Linked DNA regions of Homo sapiens: regions 1 and 3 are each linked to region 2. The links are contacts of gene promoters, found by promoter capture Hi-C in human tissues and cell types (Jung and others, 2019). All regions are on one chromosome and are shown on one strand. Each heading gives the region's core, a stretch centred on a gene start or on the middle of the fragment in contact. The rest is flanking DNA. Distances are from core to core; before and after follow the strand shown. Region 1 overlaps AKAP1 (A-kinase anchoring protein 1). Region 2 holds the start of CUEDC1 (CUE domain containing 1). Region 3 holds the start of SCPEP1 (serine carboxypeptidase 1).

Evidence for each region. The method cuts DNA at HindIII sites, captures the fragments that hold promoters and counts their contacts. A contact is called where the count stands out against the background at its distance.
Region 1: a fragment that was not itself captured here is called in contact with the fragment with the promoter of CUEDC1 in region 2 in 3 of the 25 tissues and cell types used here (aorta, dorsolateral prefrontal cortex and hippocampus).
Region 3: a contact is called between the fragment with the promoter of SCPEP1 here and the fragment with the promoter of CUEDC1 in region 2, in 1 of the 25 tissues and cell types used here (aorta).

The regions. Positions count from the first base shown.
Region 1 is chr17:57,087,136-57,090,713 of GRCh38, forward strand. All of the region lies in intron 1 of AKAP1 (A-kinase anchoring protein 1), which reads left to right. Among named protein-coding and RNA genes, the nearest start is that of AKAP1, 3.7 kb to the left of the region's middle. The HindIII fragment of the contact is 3,932 bases long and covers 1-3,578 here.
Region 2 is chr17:57,953,384-57,956,701 of GRCh38, forward strand. It overlaps CUEDC1 (CUE domain containing 1), which reads right to left and starts at 2,029. Exons shown (of 11, transcript NM_001271875.2): 1 at 1,842-2,029. RefSeq lists a silencer at 1,884-1,953. The HindIII fragment of the contact is 13,236 bases long and covers 1-3,318 here.
Region 3 is chr17:56,975,932-56,979,388 of GRCh38, forward strand. It overlaps SCPEP1 (serine carboxypeptidase 1), which reads left to right and starts at 2,200. Exons shown (of 13, transcript NM_021626.3): 1 at 2,200-2,304. The coding sequence starts at 2,229. LOC105371836 (a long non-coding RNA gene) reads left to right here. Exons shown (of 4, transcript XR_934875.4): 4 at 1-76. RefSeq lists a silencer at 2,083-2,142. The HindIII fragment of the contact is 4,443 bases long and covers 420-3,457 here.

The DNA of each region.
Region 1 (3,578 bases), core at 574-3,073, 870 kb before region 2:
GCATGCAAATCACTAAAGCTTGAGTCCATTACTGGATTAATAGGCTCTGTCTTCATGCATGTTGTCAGATGATGGCTCAGAACTTGCAGGTAACAGATCCTAGCCAATGAGTGAGACAGGTCTAATGGATTTGTGTCTAGGTCTAGTTCCTTGTAGGAATATCTCTCCCATCTCCCAGTTGTTTCTAGGAAATGCATTCTCACTTGGCCACTGCAGGGTGACAGTGGAGGTGTCTGTTGTAAGTGGCCTGCTCAGGTGCTGAAGTCGATATGTCTCCAGTGTAAGGTTGCTGAACATCAATATTTAAAAGCAATTTATCTTGCTGCCTGGTAACCCAAATTATTCTTGAGCTTTGGACATAGGCTGGGTTGCAGCCATATTTTAGGGGAAGGCTGGTGTTAGCCTCTACAGTATTCCCTTTTCCTGTCCTAAAGACAAATGGAGATCATATTTGTGATACTGGGGACTGTGATAGGTGCTTAAGCATTGCTCTTCCCCTCTCCTCCCTGAACAATCCCTGAGACTGACTTTGTTTCTCTTGAATTACTTGAGTGACTTGAATTCTATTAAAAGCACCCCTCTCCTTAGCCTCTGACCCAGAAGCTTGTTTGGGAGGAAAAACGAATTGGTTTCCCTAAGCTTTGCTGGCTAGCCTCCTGCTCCCAGCCTGCAACATGACTTGATTGTGTGTGCATTTCAGGGCTTTGAAGAGCAGGCAGCTTGTAGCCAATGTACCCAGAGAGCTGGCCGTAGAGTTCCCCTAGGTCACTCCTTCCTAATCTTCCCTGTGAGTCTGAATGATTGGGCCTTTCTGTAGCTTGGTCTGTTTTCCTATTGTGGGGAAGTCAGTTGTTTCAGGTATGAGTTAATACCTTCAGCTTGTCATTCTCAGGCGTTTTCTTCCACTATGGGGAGGTAGTAGATCCTGTGGGCATCTTGTCCCATTGAAATCATCTCATATACTGTTTGAGAGTTGCTCATCTTTATGGTGGGGGGTGTATTTTAGTCCTAAATCTTGCTTCTTAGGGCAAGTTCTGTTTCTTCCATGTTCCTTCCTGGTGTAATACCTCAGGCAGTTTTCACTTTTATGATCATTTAACATTAAGTTCCCATCACATGTGGCATCCCACTGAAGGAACCTCCTGGCCTTGGTACCTAATTTGAAGCTTGGGCTGTGGAAAACATCATCAGTGAGCATGTTTGAAGTAGGACAGAGTCTGGCTGGAGAAACAGGTAGTGGGGGAGCTGGGAGCTAAACTTGAGAGGATGCCTCTTTCTTGATAGTTACTGTGCTAGGTGAGTTATGAGCACACTAATCCTTTAATCCTCACACCTCTGAGAACAGTGAGGGTGAAGCTGGAGGTCATTCTGGATTGTTTCAGTGGCTGTCACACAAATTCAAATTGAGGGGTAGAGGAACTAGGAAGCGTGGGTGTGGAGTTAAAACTAGGTCCTCTGGATGGCTTTTGTGAGAAGAACCAAGGAATATTCTTAAATCCCTGGGCTTTTCTCCTAATCTTTCTGCTGCTTTCTAAGTAGATTGTTAACATTGTGTGTGTTATCATTCAGCATTCTGAGAACTAGCTTTCCAGCAATAAATAGCTTTCAAGGTGTCCTTTGCCTTAACTTTTTCATTTTACTAAATGGTGCAGCCTTGTCCACATTCTGTCCGGGTCTTCACCATCTGGTTGTTTTTCCGGCTTGGTTTGATAGTTTGCAGCAGTCAGTGGTAAACATTGTGTTCCCTGTTCTGTAATGGTGGCTGGTTGTGTTCACCGAGCCAGGTGTCACTAAGGCCCAGTTGCACTTGGGAGCAAAGAAGGGCCCTGAGGTGAGTCCTGGAAGTAAAAATATGTATAACCTAGGGCTGATGAGGCTTGTTTCACTGCTGGGCTTAGCTGACAAGAGCCTGGGACTTGCTGCAGCTCTCAGAGCTGAAACCTGGCGGTGATTCTAGGCAGGCTGGTTGGCCTTCCAGATCTTGGTTTATTCAGTGGCTAAAAGAGGTTTGGTCAAAATTATCAGTATTCAGATTATGGTCCTGGGAGCCTTGGAGTTAGACCAAACGTGCCCAGGGGCCACTGGAGTGATGTGTTTGGGCTGGGGAGCACAGCTCAATGGGTAGTACATGTCAAAGACTTAAGGGGAAAAAAAACAACTCACTGTTCATCTCAAGTTCTTAGCTCTAAGGTGTGCTACTGTTCTAAATATTTTTTATTTTTAAAGATAGCTTTATTTGCCTAAATTTGTCCTGGGTGTGGGGAGTTTAGAGCTGCCTTGTCTGTAGGGTAGCTGCTAGCTGTGTGACTAATTAAACTTTTCAAAGTATTTTTAAAAAAATTTCTTAGTGACATTAGCCACATTTCAGGTTCTCAGTGGCCTCGTGTAGCTAGTGGCTGCCGTCCTGGTCAGTACAGGTCAAGAACATTTTCCATAATCGAAGAAAGTTTTGTTGGACAGCGCCGGCCTAGAAAGTTTTTTTTTCTCCAACTCTAAAAGCTTAATTGTCTCAACTTGTAAATCTCTAAAGCATAACATGTTTGAGCTTAGTCTTCCAGAGTCCATAAACCCAACAGCTTTGGTGACAAATTATCTACTGGTTGTCTCCATGGCATACTACAAGTGAGTTCTAGTCTGCCAGTTGGGAGTGGACGAACAGTTTTGAAACAGTTTGAGTGAGGACCTTCAGAAAGGACCTGGGGACAGGAGCGTGAAGCAAAGGTCCAGATGCTAAGCCCTTAGAAAGCCCTTTTGGTTTGAAGCCGTTTATTATCATAAAGATCCCTGCTGGTTTGTCCTTGGTCTCCAAATGTCAGATGTCAACATATTGTTACTTGGTCCTTCACCCACCTGATGACTTCCTACAGATCTCAGTGCGGCCCTTCTCTTAAACGAGGTTGTGTTTTCATTCTGCTGTTTCCAGTCCACCTAAATGTTAGGGGCCATTCTTCACAGAAGGTGTTGGGGGAGAGTGGGGCCACAGCGTGGATGCTAACGTGTTCTGTTGTGGCAGGGGTGGGGAGTTCTTTGTTTCCAGATGCCCCCTCTTCTAGTCCTGGGTGTGCTTTGTTTGAACCCTGCTAGATTGACCTTTGGTATATATAATGTGAGATCTCTTTTCTTGGAGCCAGGCAGCATAAAGGACACTTACTGATGAGCACCTACTGGCATATTAGTGGCTTTTTTTTTTCTGTGTCATTTTTATTCTCTGTCAGCCCTATGAGGTTAGTACAGTGATTAGTTTGTGGGTGAAGAAACAAGATCCGAGTAGAGTAAACTGGTCCCTGGACACAGCAAGGGCTGGACTGGCTTGGACCTGGGCTGGGGCGTGCTCCCCACCTCCTCCTCTGCCCCTGCCGCCCCCCATGCTCATTGGTTGTTGCTTATTTACTGCCCCTTTATCACCACATCCTCATTCAGGAAACTAAACTGGGTTTTACAAAGATTAAAATCATTGATCCCACATATGGAGTCTGACTTAAGTGTGTTCAGCCTCGTTACAACTCTGTGAGGGAGATATTCCCTATTACAGAACATCTTCATTTTATGGGAAACTGAAGTACAGGATCCTACTCTTA
Region 2 (3,318 bases), core at 779-3,278:
AGACACTCCAGGTCTCCATGGCCACAAGCCCAAAGTTGCATAGGGAGGTCATGAGAAAAGACCTTAGAAGCAGTCTGCTCTTTGAACCCTGGGATTATTCACTGACCAGCCAAAAAGGTGACAACTGTTCTGATGGCCCAGGTCAGACCAGTAACTCTAGGGCAGAGGTCTCAATGGAGGTCCTGGTTCCAAGGGGGTATATTAACCGTCTGGTGTTGAATACAGGTGTCTCCCTACACACATGCATTTTGGAAGGAGAGGAGTTAGAGCTTTCACCAGATTCTCAAAGGGGCCCATGACTCCAACCTCTGGCCCTAGTTGGCCTGGCCCAGGAGCTGGGGATACAGCCCTAGTCATATCAACATCCCTGGGCCATCCTCGCTGTCCAGGGTCTCTCTTCTATTCAAGGATGTGCCCAGGTCGGTAGCAGTATCCTGTTTCCCTTGTCCTGGCCCTTCCAGCTGCAGAAAGTGGACAGCGGGTTTCACACCCAGCCCTGCTGCACACGCTCCAGCTTCCTGGAGACCCGAGCCAGGTTTCTCCCAGCAGCACCTCTCCATCCCAGAGATGGCACCATATTCAAACTGAGGTACCAGTGGCACTGACCCCCAACAACAGAGAGGACCCAGCTTCACACTTGATCCAGCAGGGGCCCAACCACATGGTGAGATGACTTCCTCCGTGAGAGAATTCCTGGGGTCCCTCACCTCCTTCAGGCACAGCTGGCTATAAAGAAAAGGGGTGAAAGGCCCAGTACATCTCCCTGAGTCCTTTCTCCTGGGCCAGGTGGCTCAGGTGCTGCGGGATCACCCAGGGAAGGCTCATTCCTCTCGCTACAAGACGCTGACTGCGGATCAGGTGGGGAGCACGGTGGATGGTCTTCTTGTATCCTCTATCGCCTCCAGGGCATCTTGTTTCTAAACTCCCAGGGAGTCCCCTCATCTTCTACTCCACTACTCCACCAAAAAAAGGAAAATCTAAACCCTCCCTCCCCTTAAAACACATTCCGTCTCAGGAATTTAATTTCAGTGTACGTTTCTTAGAGCTAAAACTTTTTTTAAGGGGAAAAGAAATGGGCAGGGCAGTGCTGGGTGTAAGGCGACCACGCGACCGAGAAAAGGAAGAGGGAGGAATGAATAAACGCTGACACCAGCCCCCCTTGGAGCTCAGAGCCTGGGGCACAGGAGCCGGCGGGGCGGGCGAGCAGGGGCGGGGACAGCGCATTCCCAACTTTCCCTGGCCGAGCTGACGGGAGATACAGCTCCCAGGGGACCGGGAGGGACCAAAAAAGGCTGAGCCGACCTGTGACATCGGCGGGGGGCAGGAAGCGAAGCTCCCCTCCCCCTGAAAGGCGCTCGGCTCCCAGCAGGCGCCCCCGCCTGCCGTCGCCGCCCAGCCTGCGCCCCCAGGCCCGGGCACTGCGGGGAGGGGCGCCCACACAAAAGGGGGAGCGGCGGGAGAGGGGACTCGGGCGAAGCCGGCTCCGGGAGGCCTCGTCTCCCTTCCCTGCGGCGCTGGCCCGCGCCCCCCGGTCTAATCGCGCGCCCCGCTCCCGGCCCCCCAGATGCCCGCACGCCCCCCGCGCCCGGGGCCCGGGATGAGGTGGGGGCTCGGGAAGGAAGGGCGGGCGGGGACCTGCCGCACGCGGAGCTCCCGGGGAGCCGCGCCGACAGCCCCGGGAATCAAACTCGCGACGGCCCGGCCCTCCCGGCGGCGCCTGGGCAACGGGTCCCGAGAAGGTGGGGCCGCTGGGCCGGGGCCGCGGCCGGGATTGCGCGCGGGGCGCCGGCGAGGACCGCGCCCGGGGCCGGGCGGGAGCCGCGGGAGCGCGGGGGTCTTACCGGGCAGCGCCACGCGCGTCCGCTCCGCGCGGGCCGCAGGGGCCGGGCCGCGGGCCGGGCGGGGGAGGGGCTGCAATCCGCAGCGGTGGCGGCGGGGCCAGGCTCGGCGGCGGCGGCGCGGCTGGGGCGCGGGGAGGCGGAGAAAGTGAGGCGAGGCCGGCTTCCTAGCGGCGGGCGGCGAGAAATGCAGCTGTCCCTGCGCGGCTGCCGGCAGGGCCACAAGTGGGGCCGCGCGGGGAGGAGCGGGGCTGCGGGCGGGGCGGGGCGGGGGCCCGGCTGCGGCGCCCCCGGGCCCTTTCCCTATGGCCGACCCCTTTCCAGAGAGGAGGGAAGCGGACCTGGGGGTCCGGAAACCTACATGGTTGCCGGGGGTGGAGAGGGGAGCACCCAGTGAAGGCTGGAAAAATGCCCTCCGTGTACCTCCCTCCCCGGCCGCAGTGACTCCCTAGCTTGCGGGCAGGAGGGCGTGAGCGGGGTGCCTCGACCTCCCGCGCAGAGCGGGGTGCGGGGCATCCTGCCCCTCCCAGCTGCGGAGAGGGTGGGCGGAGGAGACCTGAGACCTCCGAGACTCCGCGGGGAGCTAAGAGCAGGGCTGCCCGACAGGTTCCAGGTCAGTGCCAGGAACCCAGGGTGAGGACGCACAGCTGGGGCTTGGGACACAGGTGTGGAGGAGGGGCACCTCCCTGGAATTAGGGCCCCGGAAAGGAAACCAAATCAAATGCTGAGGACACAGGAGATGGTGGGAAGGGGGAGCAAATCAAAGCTATCACTCGTCCACACCGACAGATACCACCTGCCATCTCCCATTTTCTCCTCCCCCAACCTCCCCAGCATCCCTGATCACTTCAAGGGCTGCTGAGCCCTGGGAAGATTTTCCACGGAAGAACTTGTTTAATAAATGGGAAACTGACCTTTGCTATACTTTTCCCACGTGCTTTCATTTCAGACTCCAATTTGGGAGTAGGTAGCCTAGGTCAGGTGGTGACCACCAAGCACCCTGCTACCTAGGGGATCTGAGGAGGGTGAAGAAGGCCAGATGCAAACTAAGCTCTGTCCCCAAACAACTTGCAAAGGGTCTGCACCCTCCTCCTGGAAAAGTCTGCCTTACAGACCCATTTGCCCATCTGGGCCCAGAACCCCAGGAATAGCCCCCCTCTCCCCTCCTCTGAGCGCTTGCAATTTGCTAGCCTTGCTGAGACAGATCGACACGCTCAGCCTCAGAGACAGCTGATGGTAAAAACCACAAACCAAAGTGCCCCAGACACCAATGTGTTTCCATCATTTGCATGTCAAGGGCAAGTTTCTTCAGCAAGGTGGGAAACTGGGAGGGGGAGAAACCTCAGAACCACACCCTCCTCGGGGAGGCCCAACGTTAGGTTAGCATGTTGAACGGAACTCCAGGACTGGGTTTCCAAACCCCTCTGAGGATCTCCTCTCTCCTGCTCCTCTCTCCCCACACTTCACTCCCTGGTGCATT
Region 3 (3,457 bases), core at 950-3,449, 980 kb before region 2:
GCTTTAATCTGGTTTCTACATGTGGTTTTTGTTTATTTTGTTCCTGTGATTATAAACTGTAATGAAAAAAGAAAATGTTACTGTAATACTTGATATCATGTATTTATCCATGTATCCAACCTTCTTTCCATCCTATCCATCAATCCATCTTATATTCTGGATACTTTTTTTTTTTTTAAGAGACATGGTCTCACTATATTGTCCAGGCTGGTCTCAAACTTCTAGGCTCAATCAATCATCCCACCTTGGTCTCCCAAAGAGCTGGATTACAGGCATAGGTCACTGTGCCAGCATCTGGATACATTTCAAAGAAAATTGTATACATTGGTACACCTTCCCCTAAACACTTTAATATGAATATCATTAACTAGAGGTGACATTTTATTTATATTTTTTCCTTTTGAAGTCATATTAGCGTATTATAAAATGCACAATTTTTTTGTGCGTGTGTGAGATGGGGTCTTACTCTGTCACCCAGGCTGGAGTGCAGTGGCACCATCTTGGCTCACTGCAACCTCCACCTCCTGGGTTCAAGCGATTCTCATGCCTTAGCCTCCCGAGTAGTTAAGACCACAAGCAAGTGCCACCACACCCAGCTAATTTTTGTATTTTTGTAGAAATGGGGTTTCACTATGTTGGCCAGGCTGGTCTCAAACCCCCGACCTCAAGTAATCTGCCCACCTCGGCCTCCCAAAGTGCTGGGATTACAGGTGTGAGCCACCTTGCGCCCTGGGCTGTAGTGTTATTTTTGTGGCAAAAAAATTGAAACCCTAAAATTCTGACTGCAGTGGAAGGGTAAGTGTATTTCAAGCCCTAGTGATACAGACCAACTTGGAAGCTTCAGACAGGAAAAGTTTGCTAGATAGTTATTTATTTTTAACTAAGCATGTACTTTTATGTATCTCCCATATGGCATGGAACACCTGCTCACTGCAGCCTGGAGCTCCTGGGCTCAAGTGATCCTCCCACCTCAGCCTTCTGAGTAGCTTGGACAGCAGGCGCGTGTCACCACATCAGTTAATTTTTGTTATTTTTTGTAGAGAGGGGGTCTCAATATGTTGCCCAGGCATTATGGATTTTATGCATTCGGGACCATCCCATGCTTAAAGCATGACAGAACCCGGCGGCATATTTTTCTCTGCCGCAGCTTTCAGTGCAGGGGCACCTCACAGGCAGGGCGGGGTCAAGGCTCTGTCCAGACAATGGCTGCAGAGTAAAAAGCACTTCCATTTATGGGGGTCAAGGGCGAGGGGAGGGAGAAAGGAGCAGGGAAAGAGGAGAAGTGGCCACATGTACTTTGATTTGTTTTTTGCTTTTTGTTACATGTACTTTTGAAGCAGTATTTAGAAGTAGCCTCTCCTACAGCCCCTGCTGTAGCTTGTCTCCTAGCTGTGAGGTGAGTTATTCAGTACCCTCTAACGTAAAAATGACCTTCAGACAGACAGACAGACACACACACACACACACACACACACACAGAGGAAAACAGCTCTGTCATCCACTTTTTCTTCCTTTCCCGTCCCCAGACCCTCGATTCTCTCTTTAAAATGACTGCTGTGAAGATAACGTAACACAGAGTAATACTAATGACAAATTATCAAAAAAGAAAAAAAAAATAAAAATCTTTATTAGTGTTTTTTAAAATGACGTAAAAGACTATGGGAAAAAATGCCAACAATAGTTATGTATAACTTTTTTGTTCATATTTCCAAAACGTTTATAACATACATAACTTTAAAAGAAAAATAATTTAAAAAATACATATCTGAAAATGAAACCCCGCTGTTTGCCAACGACCAGCTGGCTTAATCTGACTTCGCAGATGTAGCAGTGTTGGAAAACGTCGGTTCTTTTGCTGAGGGAAGGAAGAGATGGGAGGGGTAGAAAGGGCGGTGGTTATTCCCTTTAGTATTTCGATCCGGTCACACAACCTAAATCCAACATCTGCATCAAATGTCTCCTTTCCGAAATACTCTCCCTAAAATGACAGAGAACCTGGCCAGGCGGACAGAACGGCCCCTGCGCATTTGCAGGGGTCCTGGTGGGCTTGCCGGGCAGAGGGCGTGCGGGTCTCAGCAAGCTGCCGGGTCCGCCCAGGCCCCGCCCCATGCCCATTCAGGCCCCGCCCCCGACCCGCAGGCCCCGCCCCCGACCCGCCCCGTCCGCCTCCGTCACGTGATGGGGCGCCGGGTCCAGCCTGTTGCTGATGCTGCCGTGCGGTACTTGTCATGGAGCTGGCACTGCGGCGCTCTCCCGTCCCGCGGTGGTTGCTGCTGCTGCCGCTGCTGCTGGGCCTGAACGCAGGTAGGTTCAAGCAAGAGGCGCACCAGCTGCCATGCCTCTTTTTTCTCCAGGCGTGAGAGTTTGTTACTGGGTTTGTGCTTTTGAAAACATGTCTCTTTTCCCCGGTTCTTACCTTGTGTAATTATATTGCTTTTGAATCTCACTCTTTTTTTTTTTTTTCCTTAAAAAATTCAAAGTGCTTTTTTTGTCCTTTTCTGGCTCTGGGTGGTCTGAGTGCTTCCGTTCTCTCCTACGCCTAGATAGAAGCTGTGTGCAGAAATGTATGATTTGGGGAAACTGCTGGTCAATGAGGTTTCCCCGATTCAAAGGCCATGATTGGCTGCTAAATGAGGATATAAGGTCGTTTTATTTTAAGCTGAAATCTGCGGTCAAAAGTACCCTTACATCCTACCACGAATGGGACATTTCATTGAGATAAGGCCCTTTCTTTTCTTGATCAAAACAAACAAGATAACATCTTCCCCCACAGCGATCTTTTTTGGCAAAAAACAGATTTGTGTTTAATAGGATGACTTGCAAATTGATTTTCAGCAAAACCTCTCCTAGTCTGAAGCAAGCACTGAGAATTGGAACTGGCCACAAGCTTGCCTTGTGACCTTAGGCAAGTTGTTGAACAGTTTTGTTTTCCTTTTCTAAAATGGGGATCATCTGGCCCTTAGGCGAGTGTCTGGGAGATTTTGTAAAATAAGTAGCTCTGCCAATTTTACCAGTAGTCACTGCCAGGCAAGGGAGAAGTGCCTGGGGTTAGGTCAAAAGGTACCTGCGCCTTATCTGTCATTCTCAAGGGAGCGCAGCCTTATCTGTTATTGTCAAGGACAATATAATCGTGTGTTACTTGTATATAGAACCTTATAGCTAAGTCTGTAATGTTTTAGTCATCTGTTTTGCTCCTCAGGACACTTTCTGGTTTTCTTAATCTTCATTGTTGTTTTGTTTTGAGTCAGGGTCTCACTATGTTGCCCAGGCTGGTCTGGAACTGCCTGACTCAAGTGATCTTCCTACTTCAGCATCCCAAGTAGCCCGGACTGCAGACACAGGCCACCACCCTGGCTCTTTCTTATTTACAAGACGTTGTCTCATTGTCTTCCTCTCTACTCCTGTCTCTTTAGCTGTTGGGACCAGTGTTCTTTTACTGACCAATGGGGCTTGAAAT